Regions from separate parts of the Homo sapiens genome. Here region 2 is linked to region 1. The links are contacts of gene promoters, found by promoter capture Hi-C in human tissues and cell types (Jung and others, 2019). All regions are on one chromosome and are shown on one strand. Each heading gives the region's core, a stretch centred on a gene start or on the middle of the fragment in contact. The rest is flanking DNA. Distances are from core to core; before and after follow the strand shown. Region 1 holds the start of MED25 (mediator complex subunit 25). Region 2 overlaps FCGRT (Fc gamma receptor and transporter).

Region 1 (7,112 bases), core at 2,553-5,052:
GCCTCAGCCTCCTGAGTAGCTGGGATTACAGGTGTGCCCCCACCACGTCCAGCTAATTTTTGTAGTTTTTGTGGAGACAGGGTGTCGCCATGTTGCCCAAGCTGGTCTCAAACTCTTTGGCTCAAATGATCCACCCACCTCAGCCTCTCAAAGTGCTGGGACTACAGGCAGGAGCCACCATGCCTGGCCTAGGTACCATTTTAATCTTCCTTCTTGCCTATTGATATTTTTTTTCCTTTCTCTGGATTACTTTTATCTTCCTTACAACTTTATTAAAATGTTAGTTACACAGGCATAAAAGAGGGGGCTGCTCTAGATGAAAAGAAACTTGAGACATAATGTCTAAATATGTGTGTGGTCTTTGTTTGGATCCTGATACAAATAAACCAACTGTAAAAACACATTTTGAGACAATTGGAACGTTTGATTACACACTTACTGTTGGATGATACTAAGAAGTTAATTTTGTTACAGGTAACAATGGCATACTAGTAATGTAAGAAAGTGTTCATAAAATTGGAAAGATGCCTGCCAAGCACACAGGAGTAAAATCATATGATTGTATGGATTTGAAGGCTTCAGCAGGCCAGGCGCGGCGGCTTACGCCTGTAATCCCAGCACTTTGGGAGGCCAAGGTGGGCGGGTCACCTGAGGTCTGGAGTTCGAGACCAGCCTGACCAACATGGAGAAACCCCGGCTCTACTAAAAATACAAAATTAGCTGGGCGTGGTGGCGCATGCCTGTAAACTCAGCTACTCGGGAGGCTGAGGCAGGATAATCGCTTGAACCCAGGAGGTGGAGGCTGCCGTGAGCCGAGACTGTGCCATTGCACTGCAGCCTGGGCAACAAGAACAAAACTCCATCTCAAAAAAAAAAAAAAAAAAAAAGCTTCAGCAAATGAGACTGTCTCAAAAAAAAAAGGGCTTCCGCAGGCTCACTGCCTATAATCCGGGCACTCTAGGAGGCCAAAACGGGTGGATCACCTGAGGTCAGGAGTTTGAGACCAGCCTGGCCAACATGGTAAAACCCTGTCTCTAACAAAAATACAAAAATTTGCCTGCGAGGTGGCACACACCTGTAGTCCCAGCTACTGGGGAGGCAGAGGCAGGAGAATCGGTGGAACCAGGGAGGCAGAGGCTGCAGCGAGCCGACACTGCGCCACTGCACTCCAGTCTGGGCGACAGAGCGAGATTTTGTCAAAAAAAAAATAATAAAATAAAAAAAAATAAAAATAAAAATAAAAGATAAAAGAAAAATAGAAACCCAATAAAAAATAATTTTAAATGATAAAGGTAAAAACCTTTATCATTAGGCTTTCTGTAAGTACTTTTCAATTGGTGATTATTATTATTATTATTACTTTTTTTTTTTTGAGACAGCGCCTCGCTCCGTCCCCCAGGCTGGAGTGCAGTGGCGCGATCTCTGTTCACTGCAAGCTCCGCCTTCCGGGTTCACGCCATTCTCCTGCCTCAGCCTCCGGAGTAGCTGGGACTACAGGCGCCCGCCACCACGCCCCGCTAATTTTTTTTTTTTTTTTTTTGGATTTTCAGTAGAGACGGGGTTTCACCGTGTTAGCAAGGATGGTCTCGATCTCCTGACCTCGTGATCTGCCCGCCTTGGCCTCCCAAAGTGCTGGGATTGCAAGCATGAGCCACTGCGCCCGGCCTGTTTTTTTTGTTTTTTTTGTTTTTTTTTTGAGACAGTCTCGCTCTGTCGCCCAGGCTGGAGTGCAGTGGCGTGATCTCGGCTCACTGCAACCTCTGCCTCCCGGGTTCAAGCGATTCTCCTTGCCTCAGCCTCTCGAGTTGCTGGGATTACAGGTGGGCACCACGACGCCCAGTGATACTGACCTCGTGATGCGCCCGCCTCTACCTCCCAAAGTGCTGGAATTACAGGCATGAGCCATCTCGCCCGGCCGAAGATTATGTTTTAAAATATTTACTGGCCATTCAAAATTTTGTGTGTGTGTTTGTGTGAAACTAGTCAGGTTTCTTTTTATTTATTTATTTTTATTTTTTTTGAGACGGAGTCTAACTCTGCCGCCCAGGCTGGAATGCAGTGGCACAATCTCAGTTGACTGCAACCTCCGCCTCCCGGGTTCAGGAGAATCTCCTGACTCAGCCTCCCAAGTAGCTGGGATTACAGACGCCCACCAGGACGGCTAATTTTTTTATTTTTAGTAGTTAGAAGGAGTTTCACCATGTTGGCCAGGCTGGTCTTGAACCCCTTACCTCGGGTGATCTGCCCGCCTTGGCCTCCCAAAGTGCTGGGATTACAAGCGTGAGCCACGGCGTCCGGCCCTGGTCAGGTTTCTTTCTATTAAAACAAATATAAAGTGGCAGGGCACGATGGCTAACACCTGGGATCGCTTTAGCCGAGGAGTTTGAGACACGCCAGAGCAACACAGTGAGACCCCATCTCTACAAAAAATTTAAAAATTAGCTGGAAGTGGTAGTGCGCGGCTGTGGTCCCAGCTGCTCCACAGGCTGAAGAGTGGCTCCAGTGCGAGTAGAGGCTGCCGTGAGCCAAGATTGGGCCACTGCACTTCAACCTGCACAACAGAAAGAGACCCTGCCTCAAAAAATAAAAATTAAAATTAAAAGATAATAGTAATGAAGTGTTTCTATTTTTCTATATTGTTATTCATCAGTAAGATTTATTTGCGTAGTACATTTCTGTCAACAAACACGCTAGAAAGATTTTCCCAGTTGGCCGTATATTTTTCAACTTGGTTTATACAGTCTTTTGGGAAAAATTAATGAAGACTACGTTTTCTAACTTTGCTGTAGTGCTAAGAAACTCCATGGCAGTCATTAAGATTTTTTCCCTTCAGATAGTTTTCGGGTTTCATTTGTTGCACTTACATTTTTAATCCACCTGGAATGTATTTACGTTCTAAGCCAGTTTCTGGCTCCTCTCCCAGAAAACAACGCTCAGGTGTTGCTTAGCAACCCGCACTTGGTTTGGTGTTCGGCTTCTTTTCGGGGGGGAAAACAACTGCCCTCCCTTCCAAGTTGAGGACGACCTTAAAGCGTCGCCTAGTAACCTCGTTTCCGCCGATGTGATTGGATCCTTCTCGCGTCCCTCCCCTAGTCCCCACGCCCGAAAGAACAGAACCAGAAACTTAATCTAACGGTTACAAAACAAGGGCAGCGGGCCCGGCGCGGTGGCTCACGCCTGTAATCTCAGCACTTTGGGAAGCCAAGGCGGGCGAATCACTTGAGGTCAGGAGTTCGAGAACAGCCTGGCCCACAGGGTGAAACTCTTTCTCTACTAAAAATACAAAAATTAGCGGGGCGTGGTTGCGGGCACCTGTAATCCCAGCTACTCGGGAGGCTGAGGCAGGAGAATCGCTTGAACCCGGGAAGCGGAGGTTGTAGTGAGCCGAGATCGCGCCACTGCACTCCAGCCTGGGCGACAGGGCGAGACTCCCGTTTCGAAAAAACAAACAAACAAAAAACAAAACACAAAAACGAAAACAAGGGCAGCGTACGCGTTGCATAGCAACCAGGTCTCCTGCCCCTCCCTTTGAGACAAGAGGCGGACCTGGACGCCCCGCTCAAAGATGGCGGCTGACTGAGCCGCTTTCAATTTATTTAGCTTTTGACAATAATTCCGTCTAACCCATCAGGCCCCTAGAAGGGCTAACTATGCCCTTTCTGAGTCTTCCACGCGGTGGGGGCGAAGGAGGATGGAGCTAGAACGAAGCCTCAGCGCGTGCCCCGCACAAACATGGCAGCATTCCCAGCAGCCCTAAACCGCCCGACGCGAGCGCGCGCGCGGCGCAGGCGCATTTCTGCTCATTCCGCGGCGTCGGCTGCGGCTGCAGTGGTGGTGGCGGGTACCGCACGGGGTATGGTCCCCGGGTCCGAGGGCCCGGCCCGCGCCGGGAGCGTGGTGGCCGACGTGGTGTTTGTGATTGAGGGTACGGCCAACCTGGGACCCTACTTCGAGGGGCTCCGCAAGCACTACCTGCTCCCGGCCATCGAGTGAGTGCTGTTTCCGCGACTCTAACCCCGCCCTCCCACTTCAGTTTCGCACAGTTTCTTGCCTGACTCCGACCTTTCACTTCCTACCCTCACAGGTATTTTAATGGTGGTCCTCCTGCTGAGACGGACTTCGGGGGAGACGTGAGTCTAGGGACTCCTGGGCCTGAGGGAGGAGGGGCCGGGGGCCTGGACTCCTGGGTCTGAGGGAGGGAGAAAGGGCTGGGCCTGGACTCCTGAGTTTGAGGGAGGAGGGGCTGGGGGTCTGGACTCCTTGTTCTGAGGGAGGAGGGCCTGGGGGCCTGGACTCCTGGGTCTGAGGGTGGAGGCGCTGGGGCCCGGATTCCTGGGTCCGAGGGAGGAGGGAGCTAGGGGCCCAGATCCCTGGGTCTGAGGGAGGAAGGGCTGGGCGTCTGGACTGCTGGGTCTGAGAAAGGAGGAGCTGAGGCCTGGATTCCTGGGTCTGAGGGAGGAGGTGCTGGGGCCTGGGCTCCTGGGTCTGAGGGAGGAGGGGCCGGGGGCCTGGATTCCTGGGTCTGAGGGAGAAGGGGCTGGGGCCGAGATTGCTGGGTCTGAGGAAGGAGGAAGCTGAGGAGTTCCTGGTTCTGGAGGAACGGGAAGCTGGGAGCCCTGATTCCTTCTCTAAGGGAAAAGGGAATTGAGGTCCCAGATTAAAAGTTTTCTGTCCTCCCCTCCCAGTATGGGGGGACCCAGTACAGCCTCGTGGTGTTCAACACAGTGGACTGCGCTCCCGAGTCCTACGTACAATGTCACGCTCCCACCAGCAGCGCCTATGAGTTTGTCACCTGGCTCGATGGCATTAAGTGAGCTTTCCCCCACTTGGGGTGGGTTGCTGGTCCCTGTGAGGGGCCGTGAATGAGTGATGGCTTGGGGTGGTTGGTGTCCCCGTGAGAGGCTGTGAATAAGTGATGGCTTGGGGTGGTTGGTGTCCCCGTGAGGGGCTGTGAATAAGTAATGGCTTGGGGTGGTTGGGGTCCCTGCGAGGGGCCGTGAATGAGCGATGGCTTGGGTTTGAGCTGCAGGAAACATCTCATACATTAAGGGATTGAAAGGACTTTGAGGGTGATTGTGTTTTTGTCAGAAGTCACTTTTGTGGTGGCTTCTGTGTGCTCAGCAATGTTGCCATCAGTTTAGAAGTAGGAAAAACCTTCCCATTCAGGGAGGCCTGGCTGAGCTCCAGCAGCCACCTTGTACTCCCTGTGTGATTGTCCCCTTTCTGTCCTCTCTTTTTCCGTCTACCCCTGTCCTCCTTTTCCAGATGGGTACATTGTAGCCTCAGTGCAGGGGGATGGGTCAGAGCCAGGATAGATCCCTCTGTGGCTTGGGTCAGAATTTTTTTTTTTTTTTTTGAAACAGTGTCTTGCTCTGTCTCCCAGGCTTGTAGTGCAGTGGCACAGTCGTGGCTCACTGCAACCTGTACCTCCTGGGTTGAAGCGATTCTTCTGCCTCAGCCTCCCAAGTAGCTGGGATTACAGGCACACGCCACTATGCCCAGCTAATTTTTTTTTTTTTTTTTGTATTTTTAGTAGAGACAGTTTCACTGTGTTGGCCAGGCTGGTCTCAAACTCCTGACCTCATGTGATCTGCCTGCCTCAGCCTCCCAAAGTGCTGGGATTATAGGGGTGAGCCACTGTTGCGGGATTCAGGACGACAGGAGAGAGCCCTCGGGTTAAAGCAGGAGAATCTTTCATTGAGTGCACTCAGGCCCAAGCCGACTCACGTCCAAAGACGGCCCAGAACAAAGGTAGCACTTGACTTTTATACACACTTCACAAAAGGGGGTGGGCTAGCTTGAAGCAAGCTTACAGTGGCGTGACAGCAGGGATACAGAGGCAGAACAAAAACAGTTAATCAAATTGTTGTAACAGGTTTATAACTCAGGATTGCACATAACCGTTGCTATGCAACCCAGATGTCCCTTATCTAGGTTAGCCTAGGCACGGGCTTATCCCATAACCTTCACTGTGGTGCCCAGGCAGCTCAGGCTTCTCATGACCTTCGCTGTACTTCTTAGATAAAACAGAATACTTGAAGTCATGAGTTACAGAGAACAGGAATCTATAAACTCATTCCATAAAACAAAGGAAAATTTGTTTTTTCTTCTCTCTATGTTGAGGGAGTGCTGGGAGAGTCTCCAAGAGCACTTTAGATAGTATTATCAAGACTTTTCCTGGGTCTGGGCTGTGCCCATTGCTGCCTCTCAGACAAGTCAGCCTAATACATAGAACTTATTTCTCTTTTTAATTTTTTTTCTTTAATTTCCTGCCTCACCACCACGCCTGGCGCTGGATCGGATTTTGATAGTTGACATTGTAGAGTCTGGAGTCAGGCAGACGGGTTAAATCCTGGCTCTTCCAGCACAGAACTAACTCTCAGACCCAGGAGTCTGTCCCCTCTGTGCCTAGTATCTCACTTGTGAAGTGGGGATGTGGATAGTACTTGTATTAGTATTTCATTGTATTACTTATTCTTAGCTGTATAATAGATTACCACCAAATAATGGCTGCATACTGCAAACATTTATTATCTAACGCAGTTTCTGTGAGTCAAGGACACAAGAGTGGCTTGGCTGGATGGTTGGGCTGAGGGTCTCACAAGGCAATAGTCAGGAGGTCGGCAGGATTGCAGCCATCCAGGGGTTTGACTGGTGGTGGGGAATCCGTTCCCAAGGTGGCGAGTCTGTGGCTGTTGGCCACAAGACCTCTCCACAGGGCTGGTTGACTGTCTAACATGGCAACTGGCATTCCTCAGATTGAGGGACCCAATAGAGAGAGCAAAGAGGAAGCCCCAGGCCTCTCTTGTTTTTGAGGAAGGGTCTCACTCTGTCACGCAGGCTGGAGTGCAGTGGCTCAGTCACGGCTCACTGCAGCCTCGACCTCCTGGGCTCAAGCTCAAGCGATCCTCCCATCTCAGCTTCCCGAGTAGCTGGAGTAGCAGGGACGGTAGCCAAATGCCAGCACACCTGGCTGATTTCTTAAAAATATTTTTGTAGGTCGGGCGTGGTGGCTCACGCCTGTAATCCCAGCACTTTGGGAGGCTGGGGCAGGTGGATCACCTGAGGTCAGGAGTTCGAGACCAGCCTGTCCAACATGGTGAAACCCTGCC
Region 2 (7,112 bases), core at 1,015-3,514, 300 kb before region 1:
GCTGCCTTCTCCGCTCAATTAACTTTCTCAACGTCTCCTGCTGGGCCTGAGGCTGGGAACCACCTGTCGCCTCTTGTGTCTGTTTCCCTCTCTCTCTCTGGGTCTCTGTCCCCCTCTCTTTCTGGGTCTCTTGTCTCTCTCTCTCTGGGTCTCTGTCCCCCCCCCCCCGGGTTTCTGTCCCCTCTCTCTGAATCTGTCCCCCTCCCTCCATAATAGATTCTTCTCCCTCCCTGGGTATCTGTCCCACTGCAGTCTAGTTCCCCGCCCGTGTGCTCCCTTCAGCTCTGTTTCTGTCTGCAGAAAGCCACCTCTCCCTCCTGTACCACCTTACCGCGGTGTCCTCGCCTGCCCCGGGGACTCCTGCCTTCTGGGTGTCCGGCTGGCTGGGCCCGCAGCAGTACCTGAGCTACAATAGCCTGCGGGGCGAGGCGGAGCCCTGTGGAGCTTGGGTCTGGGAAAACCAGGTGTCCTGGTATTGGGAGAAAGAGACCACAGATCTGAGGATCAAGGAGAAGCTCTTTCTGGAAGCTTTCAAAGCTTTGGGGGGAAAAGGTGAGATTCCGGTCTGGAGGGGCAAGGGGCCGGGTCCATGCTCCGGGGCCCCGCTTACCTGTGTTTGGGCGCCCCAGGTCCCTACACTCTGCAGGGCCTGCTGGGCTGTGAACTGGGCCCTGACAACACCTCGGTGCCCACCGCCAAGTTCGCCCTGAACGGCGAGGAGTTCATGAATTTCGACCTCAAGCAGGGCACCTGGGGTGGGGACTGGCCCGAGGCCCTGGCTATCAGTCAGCGGTGGCAGCAGCAGGACAAGGCGGCCAACAAGGAGCTCACCTTCCTGCTATTCTCCTGCCCGCACCGCCTGCGGGAGCACCTGGAGAGGGGCCGCGGAAACCTGGAGTGGAAGGGTGAGCCGGATCTGCAGCCGCAGGCTGTTCTGTCCTCTCTCCCGTCATGCCCACCTGCCTCAGTTCCCCTGCCAGGACCCTCCATCAGCCTCCCACTGCAGCCCACGCTCTGCCCCCCCATTCCTCAGGGGTCCTTCTACACTCAGCCCTCCCATGGCTCCCCAGCGCCCCCCAGGACAAACTCCTGGCTTCCTTCCTTGCCTTCTTTTTTTTTTTTTTTTTGTGAGACGGAGTTTCGCTCTTGTTGCCCAGGCTGGAGTGTAATGGCGCGATCTCGGCTCACCACAACCTCCGCCTCCCGGGTTCAAGTGATCTCCTGCCTCAGCCTCCCGAGTGGCTGGGATTACAGGCATGCACCACCATGCCCGGCTAATTTTGTATTTTTAGTAGAGACGGGGTTTCTTCATGTTGGTCAGGCTGGTCTCAAACCCCTGACCTCAGGTGATCCGCCCACCTCAGCCTCCCAAAGTGCTGGGATTACAGGCATGAGCTACTGCTCCTGGCTCCCCCCTTTTTTTTTTTTTTGAGACAGATTCTCGCTCTGTCACCCCAGGCTGGAATGTGGTGGCACCATCTCGGCTCACTGCAGCCTGAACCTCCCAGGCTCAAGCAGTCCTCCCACCTCAGCCAACCAAGTAGCTGGGACCACAGCCCAGCATCATCACACCTGGCTAACTTTATATTTTGTAGACACGGTGTCTCACTATGTTGCCCAGGCTGGTCTTGAACTCCTAGGCTCCAGCGATTCTCCTGCTTTGGTCTCCTGAGTAGCTGAGATTACAGGTGCATACCACCATAACTGGCTAATTTTTTTTTTTCCGCACAATCTCTGTTGCCCAGGCTAGTGTGAAGCAGGGTGATCTCAGCTCGCTGCAACCTCCGCCTCCTGGGTTTAAGGGATTCCGCTGCTTCAGCCTCATGAGTAGCTGGCACTATAGGCACATCCACCATGTCTGGCTAATTTTTATACTTTTAGTAGAGATGGGGTTTCGTCATGGTAGCTAGGCTGGTCTCAAACTCTTGACCTCAAGTGATCCACCCACCTCCGCCTCCCAAAGTGCTGGGATTACAGGAGTGAGCTACCGCGTCTGGCCATACCTGGCTAATTTTTAAAATTTGTTGTAGAGGTGGCATCTCACTATGCTGCCCAGGCCAGACTCAAACTCCTGGCCTCAAGTGATTCTCTCACTTTGGCCTCCCAGGGTGCTGGGATGACAGGTGTGAGCCACTGTGCTTGGCCTTCCTTGCCTTAATGTCCTCATCAGACCCACGCAGCAGCACTTGTCTCTACGCAGCCATCAGAGTCTACGCTCCAGCCACCCAACATAAGCAATCTCCTCCCTCTGGGCATTTGCTCATCCAGTTTCCCCTGGCACCTCTCTGTTCCACCCTTCCCCCTCTCTGCATATACTCCAGCCCTCCTTATTCTTCAAGGTCAGGGCTGGATATCACTTCCTCTGAGAAGCCTTTCCTCAGCTCTGTAGGGCAGAGTTCACTGTTTCCTCCCCGGAGGCCCCCAGATCCCCACTCATTCAACTGTTGGCCAAGAGCATTTGCACTGCCAGGCGCTGCTCTGGGCCTTGAGCAAAGAGGGAAGTGACACACATTCACCCTCTGTGGCTCCCAGGCTGCTGGACAAAGATAGATACCAGCTGGGGATGTGCACAGATATTCATTCCAAGTGCCACAAAGGAGAAGTTGAGACTCAACCAGGTAGTTTTTCTTTAATTGTCTTCTTTCTTTCCTAAGTAGGGAAAATTTCTTTCTTTTTTTGAGACAGAGTTTCGCTCTTGTCGCCCAGGCTGGAGTGCAATGGCGCGATCTCGGCTCACTGCAACCTCCGCCTCCCAGGTTCAAGTGATTCTCCTGCCTCAGCCTCCCGAGTAGCTGGGACTACAGGCGTGCACCACCACGCCTGGCTAATTTTTGTTTGTTTTTTTTTTTTTAGTAAAGACAGGGTTTTACCATGTTGGCCGGGATGGTCTCGATCTTTTGACCTCGTGATCTGCCTGCCTCGGCCTCCCAAAGTGCTGGAATTACAGACGTGAGCCACTGCTCCTGGCCTTTGTTGTTGTTGTTGTTGTTTTTGAGACAGACTCTTGCACTGTCGCCCAGACTGCAGTACTGTGGCGCAATCTTGGCTCACTGCAACCTCCGCCTCCCAGGTTCAAGCAATTCTCCTACCTCAGCCTCCCGAGTAGCTGGGATTACAGGCACACACCACCATGCCTGGCTAATTTTTGTATTTTTAGTAGAGACGGGGGCTTCACCATGCTGGCCAGGCTGGTCTCGAACTCCTGATCTCGTGATCTGCCTACCTTGGCCTCCCAAAGTGCTGGGATTACAGGCATGAGCCACCACTCCTGGCTTAAGGAGGGAAAGTTTCAAACCACACTTAAGTAGAAACAATAGTATAAAACGGACCAGACACGGTGGCTCACGCCTATAATCCCAGAACTTTGGGAGGCCGAGGCAGGTGGATTGCTTGATCCCAGGAGTTCAAGACCAGCCTGGGCAACATAGTAAGACCGCATCTCTACTAAAAACTCAAAAAATTAGCCTGGCATGGTGGTATGTGCCTCTAGTCCCAGCCACTGGGGAGGCTATGGCAGGAGGATCGCTTGAGCTCAGGAGTTTGAGGCTGTAGTGAACTGATTGCAACTCTGCACTCCAGCCCAGATGACAGAGCCAGACCCTGTCTCAAAAAGAAAAAAAATATGGTGGCCAGGTGCAGTGGCTCACGCCTGTAATTCCAACACTTTGGGAGGCCGAGGTGGGCAGATCACTTAAGGTCAGGAGTTTGAGATAAGCCTGGCCAACAGAGTGAAACCCCATCTCTACTAAACATACAAAAATTAGCCGGGTGCGGTGGTGGGTGCTTGTAATTCCAGCTATTCGGGAGGCTGAGGCAGGAGAATCACTTGATCCCGGGAAGCAGAGGTTGCAGTGAGCCGAGATCAAGCCACTGCACTCCAGCCTGGGCAACAAAGCAAGACTCTGTCTCAAAGAAAGAAGGAAAGAAAGAGAGAGGAGAGGGAGAGAGAAAGAGGAAGGAAAGGAAGGAAGGAAGGAAGGAAGCGAGCATCCCATCACTGAGACTTAATAATTATCAACCCATGGTTTTTTGAATTTCACGCACATCCTCACTCACTTCCCCACCCCACTTCACATCAAGCTTTGGTAAATCTCAGACATCACAGTGTTTTTTTCTTTGTTTGTTTGTATTTTGAGATGGAGTCTCACTCTGTCATGCGGGAGTGTAGTGGCTCAGTCTCGGCTCACTGCAAGCTTCGCCTCCCAGGTTCAAACAATTCTCCTGCCTCAGCCTCCTGAGTAGCTGGGATTACAGGTGCCCGCCACCTCGCCCAGCCAATTTTTGTATTTTTAGTAGAGATGAGGTTTCACCATATTGGCCAGGCTGGTCTTGAACTCCTGACCTCGTGATCCACCCACCTTGGCCTCCCAAAGTGCTGGGATTACAGGCATAAGCCACCGCGCCTGGCCAATTTTTGTATTTTTAGTAGAGACGGGATTTCACTATGTTGGCCAGGCTGGTCTCGAACCCTCCACCTCAAGTGATCTGCCCTCCTCAGCCTCCCAAAGTGCGGGAGTCACCGTGCCCAGCCAGACTGTTTTGTTGATAAGTCCTTTAGTATGTAACTCTACTAGGTAAGGGCATTTAAAAAAAATTAATACCAAAACCATCATCACACCTACAACCAATTAACTCTTTAATGGCATCAGATGTCCAGTTTTTGTTCCCATATTCCTGACTGTAAATGTTTTTTAAAGTTTGAATCAGCATCCAGCAAGGTCCACACATTTTGTTGTCTTTTCAGTGTCTTTTTCTGATTGTTGAATTTTTCTTTCTTTCTTTTTTTTTTTTTTTTTCCTTTTTGAGACAGGGTCTTGCTCTGTCACCAGACTGGAGTCCAGTGGTGCAATCATAGCTCACTGCAGTCTGAACTTCCTGGGCTCAAGTAATTCTCCCACTTCAGCCTCCCCAGTAGGTAGGACCACAGGTGCACGCCATCAGGCCTAGCTATTTTTGTTTGTTTGTTTTTTGAGACAAAGTCTTACTCTGTCGCCCAGACTGGAGTGCAGAGGCACGAACTCGGCTCACTGCAACTTCTGCCTCCCGGGTTCAAGCAATTCTCCTGCCTCAGCGTCCCAAGTAGCTGGGATTACAGGCGCAAGCCACCACGCCCTGCTAATTTTTTGTATCTTTAGTAGAGACAGAGTTTCACCATGTTGGCCAGGCTGGTTTCGAACTCCCGACCCCAGGTGATCCACCCACCTCGGCCTCCCAAAGTGCTGGGATTACAGGCGTGAGCCACCGCGCTCGGCCGTATTTTTGTTTTTTTCTTTTTTTTGGAGACGGAGTCTCGCTCTGTCACCCAGGCTGGGGTGCAGTGGCGCGATCTCAGCTCATTGCAACCTCCACCTCCCAAGTTGCACCAATTCTCCTGCCTCAGCCTCCCGAGTGGCTGGGACTACAGGCGCCCACCACCACGCCCGGCTAATTTTTTGTATTTTTAGTAGAGACAGAGTTTCACTGTGTTAGGCAGGATGGTCTCGATCTCCTGACCTCCTGATCCGCCTGCCTCAGCCTCCCAAAGTACTGGGATTACAGGCTTGAGCCACCGCGCCCGGCCGGATTCCAATTTTTTACCAGATAGGTGTTTTGCAAATATTTCTTCCACTCTCTAGGTTGTCTTTTCATTGTTTTAACTGTGCCTTTCACAAAGCAAAAGTTTTTAACTTTGATGAAATCCAGTTTATTCTTTTTTTTTTTTCTATCGTGGATTATGCTTTTGGTGTTTAATCTCAGAAGTAATCACCAAACCCAAAGTCAGCTAGATCTTCTCCTGTGTATTTTAAGAGTTTTAAAGTTTTGCATTTTACAGTTAGGTCTGTGATTCATTTTCAGGTAATTTGAGTTACTTGTGATCTTGAGTGTCTTTTGATTTACAGGTTTCCCATTTTCTTTTTGTTTTTTTTCCCCCTGTAATTGTGGTTTGAAGAAAGTCAGTTTATGTCCTATTGAGTTTCTCCTAGACTGGATTTTGCCCTTTGCATCCTGTGATGTTGCTGGAAATAGTCCTCCTTCTCTTCTTTAAAGGAGCAGCTCCATCTAGAAGCTTGGTCAGATTCTGGTTCAATTTTTATGGCAAGAAAACTTTCTGGGTAGTTGGTGCGTATGTCTGTGTGCATAGGCTGCAAACATCTGCTTGCTTCTGTGCTGTTCTGTGGACCACTGGATTCGGGTGTTGTTATGAAGTTCTTTGTCAGGTTTTCTCCTGATGGTTTTAGCGGATAGCAATGGCCATTGCCTTAATCTTTTTTTTTTTTTTTTTTTTTTGAGATGGAGTCTTGCTCTGTCGCCCAGGCTGGAGTGCAGTGTTGCGATCTTGGCTCACTGCAACCTCCGCCTCCCAGGTTCAAGCGATTCTGCTGCCTCAGCCTCCTGAGTAGCTGGGATTACAGGTGCGTGCCACCATGCCTGGCTAATTTTTGTATTTTTTTTGGAGAGATGGGGTTTCACTATGTTGGGCAGGCTGGTCTTGAACTCCTGACCTTGTGATCCACTTGCCTCGGCCTCCCAAAGTGCTGGGATTACAGGCGTGAGCCACCGCGCCCGGGCTTTTTTTTTTTTTTTTTTGAGAGGGCGTCTCCCTCTGTCACCAGGCTGGAGTGCAGTAGCACGATCTCGGCTCACTGCAACCTCCACCTCCCAGGTTCAAGTGATCCTCCTGCCTCAGCCTCCTTAGTAGCTGGAATTACAGGCACACACCACCACACCCAGCTAATTTTTGTATTTTTAGTACAGACAGGGTTTCACCATGTTGGCCAGGATGGATTTTTTTTTTTTTTTTGAGATGGAGTTTCACTCTTATTGCGCAGGCTGGAGTACAATGGCATGATCTCAGCTCACTGCAACCTCCGCCTCCTGGATTCAAGTGATCCTCCTGCCTCAGCCTCCAGGGTAGCTGGGACTACAGGCATGCGCTGCCATGCCTAGCTAATTTTTATATGTTTAGTAGAGATGGAGTTTCACCATGTTGGCGAAGCTGGTCTTGAACTCCTGACATCAGGTGATCTGCCTGCCTCAGCCTCCCAAAGTGCTGGGGTTACAGACGTGAGCCACCATGCCTGACCTGGTTTGGTATTTTGTTAAACAGAACCAAAGGCCAGACAGATTTTCTG

Evidence for each region. The method cuts DNA at HindIII sites, captures the fragments that hold promoters and counts their contacts. A contact is called where the count stands out against the background at its distance.
Region 2: a fragment that was not itself captured here is called in contact with the fragment with the promoter of MED25 in region 1 in 1 of the 25 tissues and cell types used here (lymphoblastoid cells).

Annotation. Positions count from the first base shown.
Region 1 is chr19:49,814,487-49,821,598 of GRCh38, forward strand. It overlaps MED25 (mediator complex subunit 25), which reads left to right and starts at 3,803. Exons shown (of 18, transcript NM_030973.4): 1 at 3,803-3,989; 2 at 4,085-4,130; 3 at 4,686-4,810. The coding sequence starts at 3,856. RefSeq lists an enhancer at 3,362-3,721 and silencers at 3,759-3,925, 3,852-4,011. The HindIII fragment of the contact is 7,641 bases long and covers 1-7,112 here.
Region 2 is chr19:49,513,582-49,520,693 of GRCh38, forward strand. FCGRT (Fc gamma receptor and transporter) reads left to right here. Exons shown (of 7, transcript NM_001136019.3): 3 at 301-552; 4 at 630-905. Among named protein-coding and RNA genes, the nearest start is that of FCGRT, 4.5 kb to the left of the region's middle. RefSeq lists an enhancer at 590-1,303. The HindIII fragment of the contact is 5,709 bases long and covers 1-5,119 here.